Linked DNA regions of Homo sapiens: region 1 is linked to region 2. Evidence: promoter capture Hi-C in human tissues and cell types (Jung and others, 2019). All regions are on one chromosome and are shown on one strand. Each heading gives the region's core, a stretch centred on a gene start or on the middle of the fragment in contact. The rest is flanking DNA. Distances are from core to core; before and after follow the strand shown. Region 1 holds the start of EMC10 (ER membrane protein complex subunit 10). Region 2 holds the start of SHANK1 (SH3 and multiple ankyrin repeat domains 1).

Evidence for each region. Contacts are between HindIII fragments. The study calls those that stand out against the background at their distance.
Region 1: a contact is called between the fragment with the promoter of EMC10 here and the fragment with the promoter of SHANK1 in region 2, in 1 of the 25 tissues and cell types used here (dorsolateral prefrontal cortex).

The regions. Positions count from the first base shown.
Region 1 is chr19:50,472,930-50,479,059 of GRCh38, reverse strand. It overlaps EMC10 (ER membrane protein complex subunit 10), which reads right to left and starts at 2,553. Exons shown (of 7, transcript NM_206538.4): 1 at 2,402-2,553; 2 at 1,059-1,131; 3 at 1-103. The coding sequence starts at 2,515. It overlaps GARIN5A (golgi associated RAB2 interactor 5A), which reads left to right and starts at 2,212. Exons shown (of 5, transcript NM_001308429.2): 1 at 2,212-2,930; 2 at 3,127-3,227; 3 at 3,557-3,735. The coding sequence starts at 2,672. RefSeq lists enhancers at 2,349-2,548, 2,415-2,915. The HindIII fragment of the contact is 25,206 bases long and covers 1-6,130 here.
Region 2 is chr19:50,715,070-50,721,391 of GRCh38, reverse strand. It overlaps SHANK1 (SH3 and multiple ankyrin repeat domains 1), which reads left to right and starts at 1,590. Exons shown (of 24, transcript NM_016148.5): 1 at 1,590-1,986; 2 at 4,430-4,727; 3 at 4,914-5,117; 4 at 5,662-5,733. The coding sequence starts at 4,473. The HindIII fragment of the contact is 4,964 bases long and covers 1-2,317 here.

The DNA.
Region 1 (6,130 bases), core at 1,304-3,803, 240 kb after region 2:
CGGCCCCGCTCCTCCTCGCTGAGCTGCCGCTGTGACAGGGACAAGGTACCATCCTGCTGGTTCCAGAGCAGTGAGCCCCGCTTCCGGAAGTTGGCACTGTCATCTGTGAGGAGCTCAGGTTCAGAGACGCCCCCTCCCCCGCCCACCCTTCAACCCAGGCAGGGGCCAGGAGGTCCAGCTTCAAATTTTGGCCTGGCCTCCACCCGAGTGACCAGGTTCCCTCCCCATCTGGGCCCCCATTTTGCTATCTGCAAAGTGGGGACACCTCCACCATGTTCCACCTCACAAGGCAACCCGTAGCAGATGCATGAACCCCACAGCTCCCAAATCCTGCCTCTGCCTCACCAGGTGACCCAGGGATAGCCACACAACCTCTCTGAGCCTCAGCTTCCCCAACTGCAAAATACGGAGGCTGTGGAGTTCAGGAATTCCCAACTACCTGGCCATGTCAGAATCAGGGGAGCTGTTCACTGAGCAGATGCCAGGGTTTGCAGAGGGGCACCAGCTTCAGGGTTTGTGCCCTCAGGTTCGGGGCCTCAGACTCGATTACTACACTCTGGGCAGCACTGACGTCCAGCTCTGGGAACCTGGACACCTGCATCATGGCAATTTAAGTTTGGGTTTGAAGCTGGCCCCTGCTCTGCCACTCACTCACGATGAGACCTTGTGTGGTGCCTACTCTGAGCCCGTTTCCTCTTCTGGAAAAAGGGGCTGACACGAATACCTACCACCTCACATGGCTGCTGTGAGGACATCTGAGTTAATACTTGCAAAGCGTGGAACCGCTAATGCTGGGCACGTGGCGACTGATCAGGAAAGCCGCTCTGAAATTATTACTGCTGTGATGACCTTTTAAAAACTGAGGTTTGTCTCACAGGCAAGGGGGCATTTAAAGAGTGTTTCTCTTCTTTCATGTCCCACTTTCCCCTAACCTGAGGCAAATCTGTTAGTAAATGGTTGTTAGTAAATGTCATACGACGGGAGGCACCCAGACTCCAAGTCTTGACTTCTCAGGGCACCAATGTTAAGTGTCTAGGAGAGGACGTTGCCTGACTCACCGATCTCAAATGAGTGCTCCAGCAGCAGCCCCACCGTGCCACAGGCCTCGCCCTCTCGACCTTCCGCCCCAGCCTGCAGAGGACACAGAAGGCCCCAGGTGAGGACCACCCAAGCCCTCAGCATAGTAGTCACCCACAGAACCCAGGACAGACAGACTGGTGGGCTGAGGGAGGAGCCTTATCTTCAAGTTAATCACTGCTGCTTGCCTTTATTTCACTAGAAACCACCCATTTCATGAATATTCATACTCTGCACTCCCTCACCCCCAGAAAACCAGACCCTACAAACATGCCTAACCTCATTGCCAAAGCAACTATCCCAAGGTCACTTCCAAGCCTTGCGCCACAAATACTCATGAGTTAAATGACACTCTCCCTCTCCCAAGCCTTCTTTTTCATGCTAATATTCAAATGGCCTCCTTATCACCTGACAGCCCAATAGCCAAGATGCAGCCTGAGTTCAGTCCCTATTAAGCACATTCAAGATTCATGCTTTCCTTTTCTCCAACCTCCAAACTTGCATACTCACGCATATTTAGGAGACAAAACTCATCTCCACTTCCTCAAGAGCCCCCTCCCACGCCTTATTTTCTTTTTCTGAGACAGGGTCTCGCTCAGTCGCCCAGGCTGGAGTGCAGTAGCGTGATCTCAGCTCCCTGCAACCTCTGCCTCCTGGGTTCAAGCGATTCTCCTGCCTCAGCCTCCCGAGTAGTTGGAATTACAGGCACCTGCCACCACATCCAGCTAATTTTTGTGTTTTTAGTAGAGACGGGGTTTCACCATTTTGAGCAGGCTGGTCTTGAACTCCTGACTTCAAGTGGTCCGCCCGCCTCGGCTTCCCGAAGTGCTGGGATTACAAGCATGAGCCACCGCGACCGGCCTAATTTTTTTTTTTTTTTTAGTATTTTTTGTAGAGACAGGGCTCGCTATGTTGCCCAGGCTGGTCTTGAACTCCTGGCCTAGAGCAATCCTCCCGCCTCGGCCTCCCTAAGCGTTGGGATGACAGATGAGCCACCGCGCCCGGCTTCACCTTGCCTCTTTCATTTCAACCGCCCGGACGTCGGATTCTCCAAGATTCCACACCCCCAGCCCCGCCCCCTCATACATATTCCCGAGCCAGAGCCTTCCGACAGGTGCGCTTGTCCTCCCACCCAGTCCTTGCAACCCGGTGCACTGGCGAGGCCCCTCCTGCGCGTGCGTGACTGAGGCCTGGCTTTCCAGGGATCTCCCACCTCTTCCCTCTCAGCCCTGCGCAGCCTCCTTCCGTCTGTAACTCACCTAAAGACCCAAGACCTGCGACATCCGTAGACCGCGCCCGCTATGCACAGCTAAAGAGCACTCACCCCTCGCGCACCAGTCCCGGCCCGGCAGCCGCTGCCCCGGGCTCGACTGGGCGCTGCTACCGCCATCAGCAAGAGCAGGAGCAGCCGGGTTGCCCCAGCGCTGGCTGCCGCCATCTCGGCTTCTTCCCACCAGCGAAGGGACGGCTGTGAGCCAAGAGCCGCGGAGCACGCCGGGAGGAACAGGCCGCATCCTGACGCCCGTGCGCCTGCGCTGGGCCCCGGCACCTGCGCACTGGCACCCGTCCGCACCTGGGGCCTGACGTCAGCAGGATGGGGCCGCCCCTTTGGCCTGATCTCCAGGAGCCGCCCCCTCCAGGGACGTCATCACAAATCAGGAGCCCGCTCTTGTGTGACGTCATAAAGCCCGCTCCGCATCATGACGTCACAGTGCGCGTAGTCCCGCCCCCTCGCTTTCTCCCTCTGCTCCTCCGTCCGCTCCCGTCGGACGGGGACATTGCAATGAGGCGGGATCGCGGCCCTAAGCCGGCCCTGGGTGGAGCTGGCGAGGTGGAACCAGGTGGGATGGCAGGTGAGAGAGGGGAGCCAGGCCTAGAGGGGTTGGACCTGGTGAAGGAACCAAGTAGGATGGGGCCGGCAATTCGGGGGCATCTGATACCCCGTCCTCTCCGCGGGGCTGTGCCGGGCCCTCTCAGTTGGGAAGCCAGGCACAGCCTCCCAGGATCGACCCCCAGACTTCGTCCTGGTAAAATGCCTCCTGGTTGCAGCCTCTCCCACGGGCCGTCCCAGACGGCTCCAACGCTACCTCCAGAGCGGCGAATTCGACCAGTTTCGGGACTTCCCCATCTTTGAGAGCAACTTCGTACAGGTAGGGAGCCCCAGAACCCCCTCATCCCCAGCCTCGGCCTGCCCCTCGACCTCCTCCTGACTTGGAAAGCCCCTGCTCCCCCATAACGTCCATCTCGTGGGATTCCCGACTCCCAACTCCTATGTGATCTCTGACACCCCATACTTCTAGTTCTCTAGATTCTTTGTGAACCCTGGCCTGTAACTCCCTTGCCTCAGTTTCCCTGACTTCACACCCATATGATTCTTGAACTTTAATTTCAAGATATCTGGCCCCCAGCCTGATTTTCAACTCACCTGGTTCATGACCTTTTCCCCTACCAAGATTCCTAACCTCTGATCCCTCCTCAGTTCTGCCCCGACATCTATCCTGCCCCGACCTCTGACCTCTGGCCCCAGGTGACTCGGTTGGGAGAAGTTGCCAACGAGGTCACCATGGGGGTGGCAGCCTCCAGTCCAGCCCTGGAGCTCCCGGACCTATTGCTTCTGGCCGGCCCTGCCAAGGAGAACGGACACCTGCAACTCTTCGGGTAACTGCCCCCACCTCAGCCGAGACCCCTTCCTCCCTCAGCTCCAGGCACCTGAGCCCCCAGCAGTACCTCCCCTCGTCCAGACCACCCCCAGGGCCAGGAGCTGGCAGTGCTACCGGCCCTCCCTGAGCTGCCATCTACCCGGGAGAACAAGGACAGAGCAGCCCTCAGGGGCCAGAAATCAGAGATTAGACAGACCTGAAGGGGACAGTCCTCAGCCATGCCCCAGCAGCGGTCAGGAGAATGATCATTTCCGCAGGGCCTGCTCATGCCAGACGCCCCTAGGCCGCGCATACGATCTCACCTCTGACCTCATATCTTCACATGGTGGGGTCCCTTAGCCCCATCCGCCAAAGAGCTAAACTGAGGCTCAGAGAGCCGGGAGCCAGTTGCCCAGGGTCCCACTGTGGCTCCAGAGTGGGCCAGGATTGGAATGCCAAGCTTGTCATGATTGTGGATCTCATGGTTCTTGAGCCCTCCTGTGCCTCACTCCACACTGCCCCTTTACGTCATATTTTTTCATTGAAAAAGTAATGCAGATCGGGTGCGGTGGCCCACACCTGTAATCCCAGCACTTTGGGAGGCCAAGGCAGGCAGATCATTTGAGGCCAGGAATTTGAGACCGGTCTGGCCAACATAGCAAAACCCTGTCTCTACCAGAAATACAAAAAATTAGCCAGGGCCGGGTGCGGTGGCTCACGCTTGTAATCCCAGCACTTTGGGAGGCTGAGGTGGGTGGATCACGAGGTCAAGAGAACGAGACCATCCTGGCTAACACAGTGAAACCCCGTCTCTACTAAAAATACAAAAAATTAGTCGGGCGTGGTGGTGAGCGCCTGTAGTCCCAGCTACTCGGGAGGCTGAGGCAGGAGAATGGCGTGAACCCAGGAGGCGGAGGTTGCAGTGAGCTGAGATTGCGCCACTGCACTCCAGCCTGGGCGACAGAGCGAGACTCCATCTCAAAAAAAAAAAAAAAAATTAGCCAGGTGTGGTGGCGGGCGCCGGTAATCCCAGCTACTCGGGAGGCTGAGGCAGGAGAATTGCTTGAACCCAAGAGGTGGAGGTTGCAGTGAGCCGAGATCATCCCACTGCACTCCAACCTGGGTAACAGAATGAGTGAGACTCTGTCTCAAAAAAAAAAAGAGAGAATAAAAAAGAAAAGAAAAGAGAAAAGAAAAAGTAATGCAAACAAACGAGAAAACAAGCACAAAATAGACAGCAGAAGCTGTTCCTTTTTCTCACCCAAGGCTCCTGCCCCAACTCCAGCTACAAACACTGAAATGTTTACATGCCTACAGTACAGAAACATTCTGCCAGTAGCTTTCACTTTTTTTGTTGTTTGTTTTTTTGAGACAGAGTCTCCAGGCTGGAGTGCAGTGGCACAACCTCGGCTCACTGCAACCTCTGCCTCCTGGGTTCAAGCAATTCTCCTGCCTCAGCCTCCTGAGTAGCTGGGATTACAGGAGCCTGCCACCACGCCCAGCTAATTTTTGTATTTTTAGTAGAGACGGGGTTTCACCATGTTGGCCAGGCTGGTCTCGAACTCCTGACCTCAGGTGATCTGCCTGCCTGGGCCTCCCAAAGTGCTGGGATTACAGGCATGAGCTACCATGCCTGTCTGGCTTTCACTTTTTTGACCACATCTCACAGTTCATGAAAGAGAGATGCCGGGTATGGTGACTCATGCCTGTAATCCCAGCACTTTGGGAGGCTGAGGTGGGAGGATTACTTCAGGCTTGGAGTTCAAGACCAGCCTGGGCAACATAGCAAGACCCCCATCTCTACAAAAATCAAAATTACAAAGCTAGCCAGGTATGGTGACACATACATGTGGTCCTAGCTACTGGGGCTGAGCCAGGAGGATCACTTGAGCCCAGGAGTTCGAGGCTGCAGTGAACTGTGATCACACCACTGCACTCCAGCCTGGGCAATGAAGTGAGACCCGTTCTCTAAAAAAGAAAGAAAGAGAGGGAAGAAAGAAGACAGAGAAAAGAAGAAAGGGAAGAAAGTAAGGAGGGAGAAATAGAGGAAGGAGGGAAGGAAGGAAGGACAAACTCACATTGTCTCACACATGCACACATGAAGGTCCACAGTTCCTTCTCTGCATTTCTGAAATCCAAAAGATTGCTTTTCTAATTTCGTGGCCAAATCAGATTTTGACCTGCATGTACTCGAGATGACTTACAGCCTTTATTAATCCCCCTGCCTAAGTTAAAAACCTTTCACAAAGGAGTATTCTGACACCAGTACAGTACCCTGAGATATTTTCTCTTCTACACTATACCTTTATTTTTGTTTATGTGTTGTAGAGGTGGGATCTCACTATGTTGCCCAGGCTGGTCTTGAACTCCGGGCCTCAAGTGATCCTCCCACCTCAGCCTCCCAAAGCACTAGG
Region 2 (6,322 bases), core at 341-2,840:
CCTCACCAGGAGCTACAGACCTCAAGAAATAATGCGTATGTGGGGAAAGGCCTTGTAAAGTGTGCAGGGGTGCACAGCCTCTCTGGCTGCTGGAGCCAACATGGGCAGCTGTGCTTTCCCCGGGCCCAGCTGCTCACCACCTGGGCTAGTGGGTACGCATCAAGATAGAGGCCTCCCCAGGCTGAGCAGGCACCTCCTCCAGCTCATACTCGGGTACCCCGGAGAGCCTGCAGCTGGAGGGGAACCCAGAAGCTGCCTAGAACTGCCCCCTGCAGGCCCTGGAGGTGCTGTTGGAGCTGGGAGAATGAGGAAGCCTGGGCTAAGGGGACACTCACCACTCACTGCTGCCCTGTGGGATCTGCTCTGTCCCTGTGGGTGCGTCCCAGGCATGAATGAGCTGTCTGCCTGCAGCTGGCTGCATATGCGTGCCTACACAGACATGTGCAAACTCTGAGGAGACGGTTGGGTGTGTCTGTGTGTGATGAATAAGGATATGCAACTATGAGGGGATATGCCCAGTAGTGCACCATAGTTGTCAAGTGAGGACTTTGGAGCCAGCCTACCTGTTCCTGATCCTTGTTACCACCTCCTTACAGCTGGATGACCTTGGGCAAGTTACTTAGCCTCTCTGTTCCTTGGTTTCCCCCTCTGGAAAATGGGGATGGCGAAAGTCCCTGAGCCTGGCACACAGAAAGTGCTCCAGGAATGTCAGCAGTAACTATCCTGGAGGGGAAGGATGGCACGGTGTTGGGCATGTAAACGGGTGAGTGCGAGCCAGTGCAATGGACAGCACGGTGGGTGGGTGTGATGGGAAGGCGTGCACACGTCTCTACAGTGCTGTAACTCCGTTTTGGTGTTGAGAGATCTGGGCATGCATACCGGGGTGAACGCCTGTGTGCGTGTGTGCGCGCGCACGTGCGTGTGTGGTGGGCAAATGTGTGCATGTGCTGCGTGTGTGCCCGGGCACAGGGGTGTGACAACTGCATGTAGCTGGGTGTGTTTGTAGCTGTGTACCCCAGGTGCATTGTGTCTGGGCATGCATGCGCTGGAGAGTGTGTGTATGTGGGGACTCTGCAGGTGCCGTTACAGCTGGTGACTATGCACCTGTGCCTTGGGGAAATGTGGCCTGGCCCAGGTATGTCCACGTGTGCCCTGACCCAGTGCTTAAATGGAAAGGGTGTGTGTGTGTTTGGGGGGACAGGGTGGGAATCTATAGCCTTCACACTTAAATTTGGGGGTGTAGAGTCTGGCAACAAATATTTATTGTGCCCCACTCTGTGTAGGGCGGCGGGGAGCTCTCTGGGAGGGGGTGGTCCTGAGGTGTGTGTGGGGGGGCACCTTATGGGGGCAGGACCCCTTCCTCGGGGTATGGGAGCAAGCAGGGGCGGAGTCAGGATTTGGGGACTCGGAGGTGGGGAGGAGTGGTGGGGGAGGGCAAGGGTAGGGGGCGGAGCCGGCGGTGGTGGGGGATGGGCGAGGTTTGGGGGCGCGGGGAGGGGCGATGTCTCCTCCGCCGGCTCCCGGAGGGAGGGGAGAGGGCGGAGGGAGGGGAGGGAGGGAGAGAGGGAGGGAGAGAGACAGGGTGAGGGAGAGACAGCGAGAGCGAGAGAGCGAGAAGGGTGGCAGAGGAGGCGCGGAGCGGGCGGCGGCGGCGGCGGCCCGAGGAAGAGGAGGAGGAAGAGCAGGCGGAGACGCGGCGCCCGGAGCCGGCCGGACCGAGCCGGGGGCGGGCGAGGAGGGGCGCGGCGGCCGCGGCGGAAGGGGGGGCGCTCTGCGGATGGCCAGGCCCGGCCCGCGGGGGGGGTGAGGTCCTCGGCCCTCCCGCCCTCCCCCCCGGTCCCCGCCCGCCCCCTCCCCGGGCCCGCTCGCCCTCCGGGGCGGTGGGGCATGGCCTGAGGGTCCCCGTCTCCGGGGGGGTGGGGGGTGGGGGGAGGGGGGAGGGGCCGCGGGCGCCGCCGACCGGGACTCAGCAGCCCCGCCAGGCAGGTAAGGGGGTCGAGAACCTGGGGGTTTGGGGCAGCTGCGGGGCCGGGGCCGCGGGAGGGGGCGAGGGCGCCCCGGATGTCCTTGGCCCGGCGCCGGGCTCCTGGCCTGGGTGTGCGGCTGGGGGTACGGGTGAGGTGGGGAGCGTTGCCCTGGGCGACACCAAATTGGGTTACGCCCGGGTCCCCGGTGCCCCGTCCCAGATCGCATCCTTGATGGGAGGGCGCGCCCCCCACCCCCGGCCAGCAGAGCCCCTATCCCGAACCCGCCTCCCGGCTCTCCGGGGCCAAGGGCTCGGTCCTGGTACCCGCCTCCCCGCCCAGCCCGGCCACTCCCCCGCCTCGCCCTCCCTGGCGTACCTGGGCCCCTCCGCCAGGTCACCCTGGTCCCCACTCCCCTCCAGCGAGGGTCTAGGCCCGGGCCTCCTCCGCCCCTTTCGACCCCTCCAGCTCCCGCTTCTCCTTCCAGGCTCCTCCAGTCCCTTTCCACCCCTGTCCAAGCTCCCTGCGTCCCCACCAGGTCTCCAGTCCCTACACCGCCGGCCGGCGCGCCCCCTCGGCTCCCGCCCCCGACTCCTGCTCCCCGGTGCCCCCCGCCCCTCTCCCCGGCCGGGTTCTCCCCCACCAGTTTCCCAGCCTCGGCTCCGGCTCTCTCTCCCCGCCCCTCCCCGCCTCCCTCCGCCTCCATTCATTCTCCCCGGCCCCGCTCTCGGCCACGCCAGCCGCCCCCTGTCCCCCCACAGCCTCCCAGGGCACCCCCTCTCTCGCGTCCTCCACCACCCCCCTCGCCGATTCCTCAGCCCGTCTCGGTACCAGCTGCGTGCCAGCTATTCTTAGCCGCGGAGCGTTTGATTCATGCCGCCCCGGCGGAGCGTGCCCGCTCCCTCCCGCGAGCCCTGAGGGGGAGGGGCCGGAGCCGGCCCGGGGGGGCTGGGGCAGCCGTACGCGCGGGGGGCCCTAGCCAGCTTTTCTTTCATCCCACCGGCCACCCCCTCCGAGCGGGGTTGAGGCTGGGGGTCAGCCAGGGTCAGCCGAGGGGGAGTGTCTGCGGGCCCCAGATCGCGAGGTGGGCTGTGCGGCGGGGCAGGGAGGAGGCAGCCGGGGTCTCCGCAGGGACGAGGTGGGGCGGCGTGGCTGGGTACCTGGAGGGGGAGGGGGCTTCGCAGCGCTGCCGCGCGTGGGGGAGGGGTCCGCCGGCCCTGGGTTAGAGGCTCGCTCGCCCACACCTCCTGGAACTCTCCTCCCACCACACACATTTAGTCTTCCCTTTCCCAACCCCCCAGCCCATCCCCACTCCCCCAAAGTCAGCAGTACCCTCCACTGCTTCCCATCTCCATGGCAACGGTGCAGGAACCGGGCCTGGTGTTGGGGGGAGGGACCAGACCAGACATTCTGGTTTCCGGTGCTGGGGTGGGAGTTGGGGGAGAACAGAAGGGAGGCGGACCCCATTTGGAAGGGGCTCCACCCTCATAAGGCCACCTCAAGGGAGAACAGCAAGGATCTAGAGATGATCCCCCACTCAGTTCCCCAGACCCTCCTCTCACTTCTTAGCCTCCCTCCTAACACCCCCAGTCCTCAGAGTGGAGCCCCTAGTACCCAGCAAGCCAGCCCACCCACCCTGCAGTCCTAGAAAAGAGCTACAGGTCATCTGCAGCCACCCACATCTACCCGGGCCACCACACCACTGTCACCTGGACAGCACTCCCCAGGCCGACCTCCCCACCTACCCGCACACCCTCTCAAGATGCCCCAGTCTCCAAAAGCCACCTCTTGTGGTTCCCTTGGGGACACCCTAGGCCAAATGCTCTGCCCATGACACCCCCATCTCAGTGCCCCTTGCTCCCCTGGGACGGCAGATTCCCCAGCACTATTCGGCATGCCACGCGTTGTCAGCCACACTTGAGTGAAGTCACCAGCTCCACCCGCTCCAGGCTCACCACACCTCCCTCTCCCCCTTACTACATCTCAGTGTCAGCCTCAGCTTCTCCCCAACCCCACCCCCCGGCCCTGGGATGAGGGGCCAGGCTGGGGCCAGGAGGGCAGGATGCCTGTCAGTTTGTCCACCTGTCTGTCCTTAGCTAATTTTAGCTGCATTTTCTGTGGCCTGGCAAAGTGGGCCAGTAGCTCCCGCGGTGATTCTGCGGTTTCTGGGACACGGCCACGCTGGGTCACCAGCAAAGTGGGGCGCAGGGGGCGGGCTGCAAGCGGGGCCAAGGGCAGGGAAGGAGACACATGCCAGAAGCATGTCAGGGACAGGGGTGTGTGCGTGCCAGCGTGGGAGGAGGCGGCAGGGGAGGCCGTGCAGGCCGAGGGTGTGTCCAGCCTCCTTCCTGCCTATCTTGGGCAGTGGGGGTAGGCTGCCCTTGACCGCTTGACCACCGAATAGCGCCTGCGGCCTCTGAGGGGTCCCGGGCTCCTAGTCTGATGGCCGCCCTTGGCCCCTGCAGCCGCCTGTGATGCTGCCGTCCCCCGTCGCCCCGTGGCCCCACAATGACCCACAGCCCCGCGACAAGCGAGGACGAGGAACGCCACAGTGCCAGCGAGTGTCCCGAGGGGGGCTCAGAGTCCGACAGCTCCCCAGACGGGCCAGGTCGAGGCCCCCGGGGGACCCGGGGCCAGGGCAGTGGGGCACCTGGTAGCCTGGCCTCTGTTAGAGGCCTCCAGGGCCGCTCAATGTCCGTCCCAGACGACGCCCACTTCAGCATGATGGTCTTCAGGATTGGCATCCCGGACCTGCACCAGACAGTGAGTACCTGCCCACTGGCCAGCGGCAGGAGAGGGACAGTGCCCCAACCGACATGGGGAGTCCACTGGTGCTGGGTATCCTCCCAGGAATCACCCCCACACTCAGCTCCTGGCTCACTTCCCAACCCACCTCAGGCTCTCCTCTGGCCCCTGGCCCACCCTAGCCCCTATCTCTTCCCCAACCAGAAATGCCTTCGCTTCAACCCCGATGCCACCATCTGGACGGCCAAGCAGCAGGTGCTCTGTGCCCTGAGCGAGAGCCTGCAGGATGTGCTCAACTATGGCCTGTTCCAACCGGCCACCTCCGGCCGCGATGCCAACTTCCTGGAGGAGGAGAGGCTGCTGCGGGAGTACCCCCAGTCCTTTGAGAAGGGGGTCCCCTACCTGGAGGTGAAGCTTCCCCAACTCCTTCACTGATAAGAGAAGGCATGCCCTAAAACACATCTGCCCCCCACCCACTTTTTAACACACTCGAAACCTTAACGAGGGGGCACCCAGTGTGCGAGTCCAGACCTTCTAAGCATCACAGGGAAGTCAGAGAGTCCTGAGTTCAAATTACCATCTGTTCTGCTTCTGACCAGCTAAGTGGCCTTGGCCAAGTCACTTTCCTGCCCCAAGCTTCTCCTCACCCATCAAATTGGGGGAGGATTCCCAATTACAGTAGGCACTCTAGAACATTCCCTGTGGGGTCCAGACTCCTCCTCCTTCAAGGCAGGGGTTGCAGTGCACATATACCATAATACCCAGCACTGTCGGAAAAGCCACTGCCACCCATCTACCGCCTAGACCAAGGTTCCAGGGCTGTTTTCACTCCCACCCTGAGCTACCCCGGGGAATTAGAAGGGGATCAGACCTTCCCCTACCCCAAGCCTTCTCCCCAGGCCCCTGATTCCAAGTCTCTGTGTCTCTCTCACTACCCTACCCTTGACCTCAGTTCCGATACAAGACCCGAGTTTACAAACAGACCAACCTGGATGAGAAGCAGCTGGCCAAGTTGCACACGAAGGTGAGAAAACCCTGCTGGCATCTATCCCCTATAGCCCCCTACCACTGGAGCCCCCTACCCAACCACTTTCTCTCCCCACCTCTTCCCAATAGACCTCCACATTCCCCAAGCCAGCGATCCCTCTGGCCACTGCCCCCGCTTAACTTGGGATGCTGTACCACATTTGAGACAACCACAAATACCCCCCATTATCCCCATCACAACCCCTTCTTACTTTCCTCTTTTGCCCTTCATCCCTCTGCCTGGGCCCACATCATTCCCACCTGGCCTCCTTTGAGTCTCCCTTCTCTTCCCCTGCCTCCCCCCATATCCATCCAAGGCCTCTTTACTTCCCCACCTTGGCCTAGGACCCTGACACTGAAGGTCCTTCTGCCTAGAGTCTATTTCAAAGACAGGCTACATTTCTCCCAACCTCATAGCCTGAATCTCTGCAAAATCCAACCATTACACCCCCCTTTCCAGCCATATCTGTCCTCCTGGTACCTTGCCCGCCAGTCCTCAGCCCCTGTCTGTCCTGTGTCTCGATGGTGAGAGCTGGGAGGAAATCGGGAACTGCTTTGGTCAGAAATGAAGAACTCTTGATCCTTGA